2 separate regions of the Homo sapiens genome follow, and region 1 is linked to region 2. Evidence: promoter capture Hi-C in human tissues and cell types (Jung and others, 2019). All regions are on one chromosome and are shown on one strand. The core of a region is centred on a gene start or on the middle of the fragment in contact, and the rest is flanking DNA. Distances in the headings are between cores, read along the strand shown.

Region 1 (6,832 bases), core at 1,525-4,024, 1.1 Mb before region 2:
TTGTTGCAAATATTTAGCACTTGGTTTACAATATGTTTCGAAATAAAAGTAAAGAAAAAAACCTCTTGAATTTTATGTAGTTAAATCTCAGGCATATTCTTGGAGAGTCCTCTATCTAGTGATCAAAATTTATTTATATTTTCTTGGAGTTTTCTATGGTTTCATTTTTTATATTAATCTCTTAAAACTCACATATAATTATTGTTCTGTATCAAAATGTACCCAAATCTGTCCAACCTTAAGGTCTTCACTGAAGCCATTCCATTCACTTATCACCTAACTCCTTCTCACCTTCCTCCTCTCAGCTGAAAGGTGGCTTCACTCAAGAGACCTTCCCTGAGCCATCTGTTTAAATTAGGTTCCTTCTGTTGCCCTCTTTAATAGATTCCTTAACCTGTATGGCATTCATAATAATCTGTAATTATGTATTTAGTTCTTTAATTGTTTAATGCCCCCCATCTACTGTATTCTAAATTATATGAGAGCAGAAACAGTATTATTCTTTCTTACAGAATATCCATATCTTTATTTATAAAGTGCCTGGCATAAAATAAATAAAGGTTGAATGATTGAATGAGCCATGAACTTCCTTTGCTTTCTGCCCTCCCACATACAAAATTACATTTGTCTTTGTTCAAACTTAATAGTACAACCACTTTCCTCTGCTGCAGACTCAGGGAGCTTATGTTCACTCCTCCCATCCACAGCTCATCCATCCACCCGTGCTTGGGATGGCACCCCCATCTTCCCGTCCCCGAGAAATCTGCCTCATCAGTCCTTTCCTCACTCTGGTATTTTCTCCCTCCATCTCCACTGTCTTTTCCTCTTAGCATATAAACCTACTCAAAATCTGCCCACTCTAACATAGAAATATACCAAAATTACCCCCTTTCTTCTCCTTGCATTCCCACTACAATTTTTAAAATAAATCTTATTGGCATAACATTTACATACAACGAAATGCACCCATTTTTAGTGTGCAGATTGATGACTTTTGATAAATGCGTATGTTCCTATACTGGCCACAATGAAGATACAGACATTTCCATTGCCACCCAAGTGTTCTCTTATTCTTTTCCAGTCAGTTCCTACATTCCCTCAGTCCACCCCAACACCAGCCAATCACTAATCTTCTTTCTACCACTGTATGTTAATTTGTATCTTTTAGAGTTTTACATAAATGGAATTGTACAATATAGAACCTTTTGTTTCTGGCTTTTCTCTCAACACGGTTTTTTTTTTTTTTAAGATTTATCCATTGTGTGCTTCAGTAGTTTGCTCTTATTGATGACTAGTAGCCCATTGCATGGGTTTACTGCAATTTTTTTCATTCATTCACCTGTTGACAGACATTTAGGTTGTTTCAGGCTTTTTGCCATTATAAACAAAGGTGCATTCAACATTTGTATACAAGTCTTTTTGTGATATATGTTTATGTTTTTATTTCTTTTGGGTAAATACATAGGAAAGTGATGGCTGGGTTTTATGTAAGTGTGTTTAATTTCTTAAGACACTGTCAAACTAGTTTCCAAACTGGTTGCACTCCTTTACATTCCTGGAAGCAGGATATGAGACTTCCAATGGCTCCACATCCTCACCAGCACTTGGTATGTTAGTTTTAAAACTGAAGACATCCTAATATATCTAATCATCTGTGGAAGATATTGACAAAGCATCTGTTGAAATGTTTTGCCCATTTAAAAAATTCTTCTTATTGAATTGTTAAAGTTCTTTATATATTTTAGATACAAATCCCTTTCAGATATATTTTGCAAATATTTTCTTCCAGTCTATGTTGTGCTTTATTTTTATAACAGTGCTTTTTGAAAAGCAAAAGCTTTACATTTGGTGAAGTACAATTTATTGATTTTTTTTCTTTTATAGTTCATATTTGTAGGGCCCATTTAAGAGTTTTTTGCTTAATGCAATATCATTCCGATTTCTCCGATTTTTTTTTTCTTGCAGAAGTTTTATAATTTTTATTTTTATTTTTTGGTTAGGTCTATTACCTATTTTAAGTTAATATTTGTGAACTGTGTGAGGTAGGGGTTGAGGTTCTTTTTCCCATATGCCTCTCTTCAGTTGTTCCAATGTTATTTCTTTTCTTTTCTTTTCTTTTCTTTCTTTTCTTCCTTTTTTTTTTTTTTTTTCTTTTTGAAATGGAGTTTCTCTCTTGTCGCCCAGGCTAGAGTGCAATGGTGCGATCTCGGCTCACTGCTATCTCTGCCTCCAGTATTCAAGCGATTCTCCTGCCTCAGCCTCCTGAGTAACTGGGATTACAGGCACATGCCACCATGCCCAGCTAATTTTGTATTTTTAGTAGAGATGGGGTTTCACTATGTTGGCCAGGCTGGTCTCAAACTCCCGACCTCAGGTGGTCCACCCGCCTTGTCCTCCCAAAGTGCTGGGATTACAGGCATGAGCCATGGTGCCTGGCCCAACATTATTTCTTAAAATGCCATCCTTTCTTCCACTGACTTACCTTGGCAAATCATTGAACCATGTATGTATGGAGTTTTTCTGGATTCTTTACTCTGTTTTATTGATCTGTATGTCCATCTTTATGCCAATACCATGCTATCGTGATTAATAAGGCTCTTTAGTAAGTCTTGAAATTGGCTAGTTTAAGTCCTCAATTTTGTTCTCTTTTCTCAAAATATTTTGGCTATTCTAAGTCCTTCGAATTTCTATACAGAGTTTAGAATCATCTTGTCAATTTATTTTTTGTCTACAAAAAATAAAACTGTGCTTGTGATCCAGATTATGTTGAATTTATAGACCAATTTAAGATTTAATCATTTTATAAAATTGAGTCTTCCGATTTATAAATATGGTATTTATCTCCATTTATTTGGGTATTATTTCATTTTTCTTAGTAATGTTTCTTAAGTTTAAGTGTACATGTCTTGCACCATATTTTGTTAAATATATTTCAGTGTTTTCCACTGTTTAGTACTGTTATACATGGTATTGTTTAAATTTCCATTTCCAATTGTTGATTACTAGAATATAGATATACATTTTTTTTTTTTTGAGATGGAGTTTCACTAATGGCGCAATCTCGGCTCACTGCAACCTCCACCTCCTGGGTTCAAGCGATTCTCCTGCCTCAGCCTCCCGAGTAGCTGGGATTACCGGCGCCTACCACTATGCCCAGCTAATTTTTTGTAAATTTAGTAGAGACAGGGTTTCACCATGTTGGCCAGGCTGGTCTCGAACTCCTGACTTCAGGTGATCCACCCACTTTGGCCTCCCAGAGTGCTGGGATTATAGGCATGAGCCACTTTGACCGGCCTAGATTACTTTTTTTTTTTTTTTTGAGACAGTTTCACTCTTGTTGCCCAGGCTGCAGTGCAATTGCACGATCTCGGCTCACAGCAACCTCCACCTCCTGGGTTCAAGTGATTCTCCTGCCTTAGCCTCCCGAGTAGCTGGGATTACAGGCATGCACCACCACGCCCGGCTAATTTTGTATTTTTAGTAGAGACAGGATTTCTCCATGTTGGTCAGGCTTGTCTCGAACTCCCGACCTCAGGTGATCTGCCCACCTCAGCCTCCCAAAGTGCTGGGATTATAGGCATGAGCTATGGCTCCCAGCCTAGATATACTTTTTTTTTTTTTTTTACATTCATGTAAAAAATGGATACTGTAACTTTACTAAATACACTTCCTTGGTATAGTACATTTTGTAGTTGTTAGGATTTTCCATGTATGCAATCATGTCATATGCAAATAAGGGCAGTTTTACTTTTTGCTTTTCAATCTCAATATTTTTTATCTCTTTATTTCTTTATATTATCAATTAGTATTTAAGGGGACTATTGCATAGAATTGGTGAGAGTAGATATTCTTGTCTAGTTCCTGATTTGGGGAGAAAAGCATTCTGAATCTCACCGTTAAGAGTTATCTTAGCTATATATTTTTCATAGGTGCTCTTCATCAGGTTAAGGAAGTTTCTTGCATTTCTAGTTTTCTGGGAGTTTTTATCATGAATCGTTGCTGTATTTTTTTGGCATCTATCTGTCTGCTCCTATGCTAGATTTAGGACTGGGATGAGAGTCCCAGTATAAATAGCACTGAATCCACTGGCAGAGGCTATGTGACACAGGAAAATGGAACAGACAAGCTTGGGGTTACAGACTCAGACAGTCATTGACGCTCTTTCTCCCAAACCTCCCTGAAGCTATTTGAAATTTTCCAGTTAAAGGAGGCTTAATTATTCCCATCACAAATACTCCTGAAGCACAAAGGACTCATAATATAATGAATATCAATTTGGTTAGATTGTTTTCCTAACATCAAACTGACAAGCACTGAGGAACTCGGAAGAGGTGTGAGAGGTAACGTTGAAACCCAGTAAGCCCTGGGAGGGGCAGGTTAAGATGAGCCAGCAGAGCGGGAAGCAATCCAAGAAGAGGAGAGAGATGTCAAAGAAAGGAAGAGAGAGGAGGCCATAGATACGTTTTACATTCTCATTGAGAGCCCTGGTGATAACCATTATGCCACTGAAATCCTGTTCTCCTACATTAATTCTTTCTTAAACAAGCAAGGTTACAAACAAGTATTTTAAAACAAAATTATGCTGTGAGCTGTTTTTGGCAAGTGTGCCCAAGGACTATTTTGGAAGACTGAATCCTCATTCAGTTCACAGCTATCTCTCTAGTCCAGATCGCTCCAATCAGGCTCTCCAGCATATTATCTTCCAGACCAGCACTAATCACTGTGTGCTTTATAGAGCACTATTTCAGAGGAGAGTTAATAGATATACGTACACACTCAAAAAAAAAAACCCCGAGAAAGAACAATAATTCCATGAGTGTTGCTAAACATGTATGTTTATATTAGAATTCAATAGGACTGTGGATATACAAATGAGCATAGTGAATTTTCAAAAGGATATTATAGTACACAGCATTGTATGTGGTATTTAAGTTGGAAATAAAACTCAGACTTCTGGACTTCGAGTCTAGTGGATTCAAGAGGTCTGGTAGAAATACTACTTGACTTCAAGACAGAAAGTCCACTTTCAATTTCCAGCTCTTCTGTTTAGTGTCTATCTAGGGGTGGTTATTTACAATTTCTGTCTTTCTTTCTTCATCTATATAAAGATAATTATTTGACTTACCTCATAGTGTTAATCATAAAGATTAAATTAGTATATGTAAAATCACCTAGTCAATATCTGATGCTGAATAAATGTAAGTTCTCCATTTAATTCCAAACCACATTCTCTTAAAGAAAAGGCAGATTTTAAAATTTCATTGTGAATTGTATAACTAATATAATCACCATGAATTATCAACAAATTAACTGCAATCTAATTAATATTTACAGTATTACATATAGAAACTGACCTAATTTAAGGTCAGTTAACAAGTAAAAGGAATATGAGTTAACATTATACATAAGATATTTAATGTATATATAACACATGAATTGCCATTCACATTATGAACATTCTAGGGAATTCTAGTTCCTGCATGAGACAGACAGAATGACCCAAGCCTTTAGGGGAACACTGTAGTTTGTGAGTTTAGAATAGAAATGAAGCTTATTGATCCATTGGTAGGAGAATATCAGTGCAATTGTAGCAAAACAAAGCAAATATTGAAAGAAAAGGGGTACTTTGAAGCAGCATAGCAAAAGAAAAGGCACACTCCACACAATTCAAGTTCTTGCCTCATATATTGGACATTTGACCTTGGACATTTCGTAGGGTTTTACTTGCTTTAAATATGAAATGGAAATAACACTTCCCCTGCCTGGCGGCAGGGGCTGGATCAGATTCTCTTTTTCCCTTCTTGGTGCTGCATTTCCTTTGCACGGCTTTAACTTTTGATCTTGGCCTCATTGTCCAAAACTACTCAATGTCCAAAACTGCAAAACGGTATGGGCAACTACAAAATCCTACTACTAACTGTGTATGTAATTGCTGAGATTAAGTTTTGTGACTTAGAATTCTCTGATGTGAATCCTAAAGCTCTCAATTTGCTCATTATGCCCACATAGTCTCTTATCTTAGACCTTAAGAGGAAAGTTTTAATCCTTGCAGCTTTAAACCAAGGCATTTGAATCTTAGTCGGTTGCTTTGGTAGTGCAGCCAGCCTGAAGAGCACACCACTAGGTGGCGCTGAAGATCCGGCTGTAGAAGGAGAATTGTCCATAAACAGAAAAGCGTTTTTCCCTCTGGGTTCCTCTATTAGCCAGCGCCAGCCTAGTGTTTGCTTTATTGTCAGGGATCTTGGAGATGTCTTGGCTTGAGTCTGACGCAAATAGTCCCCCTGCAGTGCTCAGCAGTTTGTAAAGGGGGTCTGGGGCCTGGCAATAGTCTCTCAAAGGCCTTATGAAAAGATCATTAATGACCCTCACTTTCTGCCTCCTCCCTCCACCTTCCCTCAGTCCCCAAGTCTGGCGGCCTATCCTGTGCTTCTTCAACCATTCATTCAAGCATCTACTGCATGCTTTTTTTTTTTTTTTTTTTTTTTTTTTTTTTTTTTTTTTTTTTTTTTTTGAGACGGAGTTTCGCTGTCGTCACCCAGGCTGGAGTGCAATGGTGCGATCTCGGCTCACTGCAACCTTCGCCTCCCAGGTTCACTGCTTCAGCCTCCTGGATAGCTGGGATTACAGGCACGCGCCATCACGCCCAGCTAATTTTGGATTTTTAGTAGAGACAGGGTTTCACCATGTTGGCCAGGCTGGTCTCGAACTCTTGACCTCAGGTGATCTGCCTGCCTCGGCCTCCCAAAGTGCTAGGATTACAGGCGTGAGCCACCACACCCAGCCTATTGCATGCTCTTATGGATCAGGCATACAGCTAGTAGTGCTGTGGTTT
Region 2 (6,342 bases), core at 657-3,156:
TGAAGACTATGATTTTTTTTTTTTTTTGAGACGGACTCTCGCTCTTGCCCAGGCTGGAGGGCAGTGGCGTGATCTCAGCTCACTGCAAGCCTCACCTGCCGGGTTCACGCCATTCTCCTGCCTCAGCCTCCCGAGTTGCTGGGACAACAGGCACCCACCACTATGCCCAGCTAATTTTTTGTGTTTTTTGAGTAGAGACGGGCTTTCACCGTGTTAGCTAGGATGGTCTCGATCTCCTGACCTTGTGATCCGCCCGCCTCGGCCCCCAAAGTGCTGGGATTACAGGTGTGAGCCACCGTGCCCGGCGGAAGACTATGATTAATGTTAATAGATAATATTGTATTGTATACTGGAAAATTGCTAAGAGTAGAGCTTGGGTTTTTACCACAAACACATACACAAAATATTCATGTGAGGTGATATGCTAAATCTGCTTGACTGTAGTAATCACTTCACTAGGTACATGTATATTAAAACAATGTTTTACACCTTAAATACATACAATTTTAAAGACGCATTAAAAAAAAAGCTAGGATATTCCAGACATATTTTGTTACTCATTATGTATTCACTGCAGTGTGAAAAGCACAATGCAAAGGGGTTTTTTTTTTTTTTTTTTTGCTTTTTGTTTTTTTTTTTTGAGATGGAGTCTAGCTTTGTCGCCCAGGCTGCAGTGCAGTGGCTAGAGTGCGGTGGCGCGATCTCGGCTCACTGCAAGCTTCGCCTCCCGGGTTCACTCCATTCTCCTGCCTCAGCCTCGGAGTAGCTGGGACTACAGGCGCCCGCCATCATGACCGGCTAATTTTTTTGTATTTTTTAGTAGAGACGGGGTTTCACCGTGTTAGCCAGGATGGTCTCAATCTCCTGACCTGGTGATCCGCCCCCCTCGGCCTCCCAAAGTGCTGGGATTACAGGCGTGAGCCACCGCGCCCGGCCAGTACAAAGGTTTTTAAACAGATTCTCATTTAACTTTCACAGCCATCTCTGAAGTAGGTACTATTATCTATTACTATTATTATTATTTTGAGACGGAATTTCATTCTGTCGCCCAAGCTGGAGTGCAGTGGCGCGATCTCGGCTCACTGCAACCTCCGCCTCCCGGGTTCAAGGAATTCTCCTGCCTCAGCCTCCTGAGTAACTGGGACTAGCCACTACACCCGGCTAATTTTTGTATTTTTAGTAAAGACGGGGTTTCACCACGTTGGCCAGGCTGATCTCGAACTCATGACCTCAGGTGATTCGCCTACCTCAGCCTCCCAAAGTGCTGGGATTACAGGCGTGAGCCACCGCGCCTGGCCTATTATTATTATTATTGTCGTTTTTACAGAGGAGAAAGCAGGAGCACCAAGAGGTAGGATAATTTGCTAGAAGACCCATGGCTTAGAAAGGGAAGCCTGGAGATAAGGGGACCAGCCCTCTAGAGCATTGCTCAGCCAAAATACTTGGCCAAGATCACATCTCTGATACCAGGAATGAGATAACCTTTATTAAGTGTTTACCATGTACCAGGCACTAAGCTCAGTGATTTCTAAGGACATCATATAATCCTCACAGCAACCATATGTGGGTCTGCTGTCATCCTTATTCGAGAGAGGCTGAAACGGAGGCTCAGATAGAACAAGTACCTAGCTCAAATATTACTAGAGAAATGGGAAAGTGCAGATTCAAACCCAGGTCTTCCGACTGCAAGTCCCTAGTCCCCAGCCCCAGCTCCACTATATCAGCCTCTGCTAGGAAGAAAGCCGCTAACTATGGACTTTCGTCGCCGGGGTTTCGAGCCTAGGACACACCTGTACAGACCCCCGTTTGCCCCGCCCCTTTCCGGAGGAGACGTCCCCTCCACCAATGAGCGGCGCCGTGGGCGGGCCGCGGGCGCGCATGCTCTGGGCCCGCAGTTGAAGTGGCGAGAGCGCTCAGATACGCGACGCGTAGCAGGCGGGGACCGAACGGGTGCCTCAGTGTCCTTCCCCTCCCCTCGCCTGGCCTCGCCGTCCTCTCCCCGCAGCCGGACCGGAACTATGTGATCCCGGAAGTTCCGGGGCCTTTGCTGTGTGGGATAAACAGTAATGGCGGAGGCTGCAACTCCCGGAACAACAGCCACAACATCAGGAGCAGGAGCGGCAGCGGCGACGGCGGCAGCAGCCTCCCCCACCCCGATCCCCACAGTCACCGCCCCGTCCCTGGGGGCGGGCGGAGGGGGCGGCGGCAGCGACGGCAGCGGCGGCGGCTGGACTAAACAGGTCACCTGCAGGTAGGACGTTGCGCGGCGGAGCGCCGGGCGCGGGGAGGGGGCCGCGGGCCAAGCCTGCGGCGCGGGAGGGAGGAGGGCGGCCGGCCTGCGGCTAGAGGCGCGGGAGGGCGGGGACCGGCGTTGTCTCGATCTCTGCAGCCCTCGCGGCCCCCGCTGCCGCCGCGTTCCCCCAGTCACTGCGTCAACCCCCGCTGGGCCGCGGAGCCCTCAGCGCTGTCCGCGGAGGCCTGGCGGTGCGCGATTACTGCGGAGCCGCGGGGCTGCACCGCCGCTTACACTTCCCTGAGCGCTGCCTGAGCTGGCTGCGAGCGCATCGGGGAGAGGTGGGCTGGCTCCTCCCCTGCCGCTGGAAGGATGCCCCCGCCGCTGCCTCCGGCTCCCGGGGCTCGGGAGGTGGTCACTTGAGGCCGGTCTCCCAGCGATCCTCTCCGGGCCTAGACACCCCGCCGAGGGCCCCAGCGAGCTTGCCTGGCTCCCGGCCCTCTCCTCTCTCCGTGCCATCCGTTTGTAACGTCTTTTCACGTCCCTCCGTCCCTCCGCCCCCCATCCTCCGCCCAACTGTGAGAAGAAGCTTTTGTATTTCTTCTTTGTATGTTTGTCGAGGTTGGCGGTGCTGAGCTTTGTCTTAGAAGCAGGCGTTCGGGGGCCGGGGTCGTCTTCTCCACCCGCGGTTTTTTTGAGCTGCAGATTATTACCCTCCCCCAGCGCTATGTTCCTCTTTTGAAATTTACGCATCTTCCGAAGGGAGTGAAAGGGCTCTTCGCTCCCGGAAGAGAGAGAGGTTTGGTTTTGGTTTGATATGCGAGACGAAAATATTAGAAAAATTAAGGGATGGCGGTTGTATGGATGTGTATGGTTGTAAAAAACTACCTAGCTCTACGCAGAAGAGGGCATTTAATTGTACGTTTTTTATTTTCCGGTTTTTAAATAGTGATCAGTAGCGACTGTAAGCTTTTCTTTTTCTATCAGTTGAATAAATCAACTGAAATGCCGGTTTTCACCTGGGTGGTATAATTTATATGCAAGTATGTAAAAATGATTCCTAATTAGAACTTGTAGTATTAAGGGTGAAATTTGAAACCTTCCCAGTCTTTGATGTGATACATTTATCCTGGCGACCTTCGAAGGTCTCTCAGCCTTTGATATGATACATTTAAGGTGTGAAGGATAAGCTTAATTATTTTACATAATGGGATGTAGAAAGCATAAACGCAATTTCAGGTCACTTGTCTTATTCATCGGTGGATTGTAAAAGTGGAATATTGCCAGGAATGATGATTTTAAAGTTTCTACTCATGGAGCAAATTATTTGAATATCTGTTTCCCTTTTACAATGCTACAGTTGATCTATATGTGCTAGTTACATCTTTTAAAAGATTGAAACCGGCCTGTCGGGGTGGCTAGGTCGGCGTGGTGGCTCACGCCTGTAATCCCAGCATTTTGGGAGGCTGAGGCGGGCGGATCGCCTGAGGTAAGGAGTTCGAGACCAGCCTGGCCAACATGGTGAAACCCTGTCTCTACTAAGAATACAAAAATTAGGCCGGGCACAGTGGCTCACACCTGTAATCCCAGCACTTTGGGAGGCCAAGGCAGGTGGATCACGAGGTCAGGAGCTCAAGACCAGCCTGGCCAAGATGGTGAAACCCCGTCTCTACTGAAAATACAAAAAACATTAGCCGGGCGTGGTGACAGGCGCTTGTAATCTCAGCTACTCCGGAGGCTGAGGCAGGGAGTTGCTTGAACCCAGGAGGCAGAGGTTGCGGTGAGCCAATATCACACCACTTCACTCCAGCCTGGGCGAAAGTGAAACTCTGTCAGAAGAAAAACAAAAAAGAAAAAGAAAGAAAAGAAAGAGCTTAGATTTACTAGTTTTTGGGGGTTTTTTGTATAGCTTTTGCTTGAGACAGTTTTTTATTGTTGTGCAGATTCCTTGATAGGTCTGGGGTTTTAGTGTTTGACATTGTTTTCGGTTGTTCTAGGTACCAACATGATCTCTTACTTAAAACTATTTTCTCCTTTAGATAGAGGAATGTCAACTATCATTTTTTTTTTTTTTTTTTTGAGACAGAGTTTCCCTCTTGTTTCCCAGGTTGGAGTGCAATGGTGTGATCTCTACTTACCACAACCCCCGCCTCCCAGGTTTAATTGATTCTCCTGCCTCAGTCTCTGGCATTACAGATGCCTTAGTAGCTGGGATTACAGGCGTGCACCACCATGCCCACCTGACTAATTTTGTATTTTTAGTAGAGACGGGCTTTCTCCGTGTTGGTCAGGCTGGTCTTGAACTCCCGACCTCAGGTGATCTGCCGGCCTCAGCCTCCCAAAGTGCTGGGATTAGAGGCGTGAGCCACCGCACCCGGTCTATGATCCTTATCGTTCACTTTGAGCTCTCTGAGAAGAGTAGGGCCCTATTTTATCTGCAGGGCTTTCTTTCCTCAGTTCCTCAGTTTCTTTCCTCAGTTCCAGTATCATGAACAGGATACTCAGTTACTGAGTATCCTGAGCAGATACTGAGTAAATGCTTGAGTGATGTTGATAAAGTCATATACCTAGAATTACCCACTTTAACAGGAACTTTGTAAGATTCCTCTGCTTTCATTAAAAAAAAAAAAAACAAAACTTGTAAATTACCAAAGACAAAGTACTTAACAGAACACATGTGTATCTTCCTTTTTTTTTTTTTTTTTTGAGATGGAGTGTCGCTCTGTCGCCCAGGCTGGAGTGCAGTGGCGAGATCTCAGCTCACTGCAACCTCTGCCTCCTGGGTTCAAGCGATTCTCCTGCCTCAGCCTCCTGAGTAGGTGGGATTACGCCCGGCCACATGTATATTTTTTCTGGAACTACCTTATTCAATCATTCAGTAAGTAAACATTGCACGCCAGCAATGGGAGACACAATATTAGGTGTTCAAGAGAGTGCAGATGTATGTACTGTATTATAAATAAACATTTTCAATATGTTTGCTAGGTAAACATCACCTAAAGAATCAGGTAGAGGTGTGTTTTAGTGTTTGTGCTCATTTCTCCCTATAGCACATCACTCCTGTATCTAGGAATTTGACTAAAGCTATTTTCTTCACTTAGAAGTTTTGATTAGAATGTTTTTAATTGCTCGGAATCACCTGTATTTTCCTACTGGTTACATTTTTTCTAATGTTTCTCCTGGGGTTTTCATTGTGTTTTATACCTTTCCTCAGAAACTGTGTTATGCTGCCACCACCAGGCTGTTTTTCATATCTTTTATTAGAGCAATACTAAGAAACAGAAATGCTCATTGCATCTGCTACCTTGAGTTACCTTGAGTGTGTGAGGTTAGAACAGTTAATACTTAAAGAGAAGTTGTAATTTGAATTTAGACCCCTCTTTATTAGAGTGCTTCTATAATGGCAGATAAGTGTTCTGGTAGTTGAAATAATACACAAAAAAACAAGTGTTTAATTTTTAATTTTTCAAAAAACTCTTTTCTTGATTTTTATTTGTATTTATTTGTATTTTTTGAGATAGGGTCTCGCTCTGTCCCCTAGGCTGGAATGCAGTGGCAGTGTCTTGGCTCATTGCAGCCTCCACCTCCCAGGCTCAAGCAATCCTCCTGCTTGAACCTCCCCAGTAGCTGGAATTACAGGCACGTGCCACCACCCCAGGCTAATTTTTTTTTGCATTTTTGATAGAGACAGGGTTTCACCCTGTTGCCTAGGCTGGTCTTGAACTCCTAAGCTCAAGTGTTTCACCCGCCTCGGCCTCCTAAAGTGCTGGGATTACAGGTGTGAGCCACCATGCTTGGCCTTGAAAGTTGTGTTTTGTTTGTTTGTTTGTTTGTTTTCTGAGATGGAGTCTGTGTCGCCCAAGCTGGAGTGCAGTGGCACGATCTCGGCTCACTACAACCTCTGCCTCCTGGGTTCAAGGAATTCTGGTGCCTCAGCCTTCCGAGAAGCTGGGATTACAGGCACGTGCCATCACACTCGGCTAATTATTTGTACGTTTAGTAGAGATGGGGTTTCACCATGTTGCCCAGGCTGGTCTTGAACTCCTGACCTCAGGTGATCCACCCACCTTGGCCTCCCGAAGTCCTGGGATTACAGGCATGAGCCCCCG

What was found. The method cuts DNA at HindIII sites, captures the fragments that hold promoters and counts their contacts. A contact is called where the count stands out against the background at its distance.
Region 1: a contact is called between a fragment that was not itself captured here and the fragment with the promoter of MKRN1 in region 2, in 1 of the 25 tissues and cell types used here (mesenchymal stem cells).

The regions. Positions count from the first base shown.
Region 1 is chr7:141,532,801-141,539,632 of GRCh38, reverse strand. The region is part of intron 1 of AGK-DT (AGK divergent transcript); the gene reads left to right. Among named protein-coding and RNA genes, the nearest start is that of AGK-DT, 15 kb to the left of the region's middle. The HindIII fragment of the contact is 4,128 bases long and covers 711-4,838 here.
Region 2 is chr7:140,475,069-140,481,410 of GRCh38, reverse strand. MKRN1 (makorin ring finger protein 1) reads left to right here and starts at 1,906. Exons shown (of 8, transcript NM_013446.4): 1 at 1,906-2,251. The coding sequence starts at 2,067. RefSeq lists enhancers at 559-1,469, 1,800-2,640 and silencers at 1,776-1,885, 2,176-2,315, 2,596-2,675. The HindIII fragment of the contact is 9,474 bases long and covers 1-3,012 here.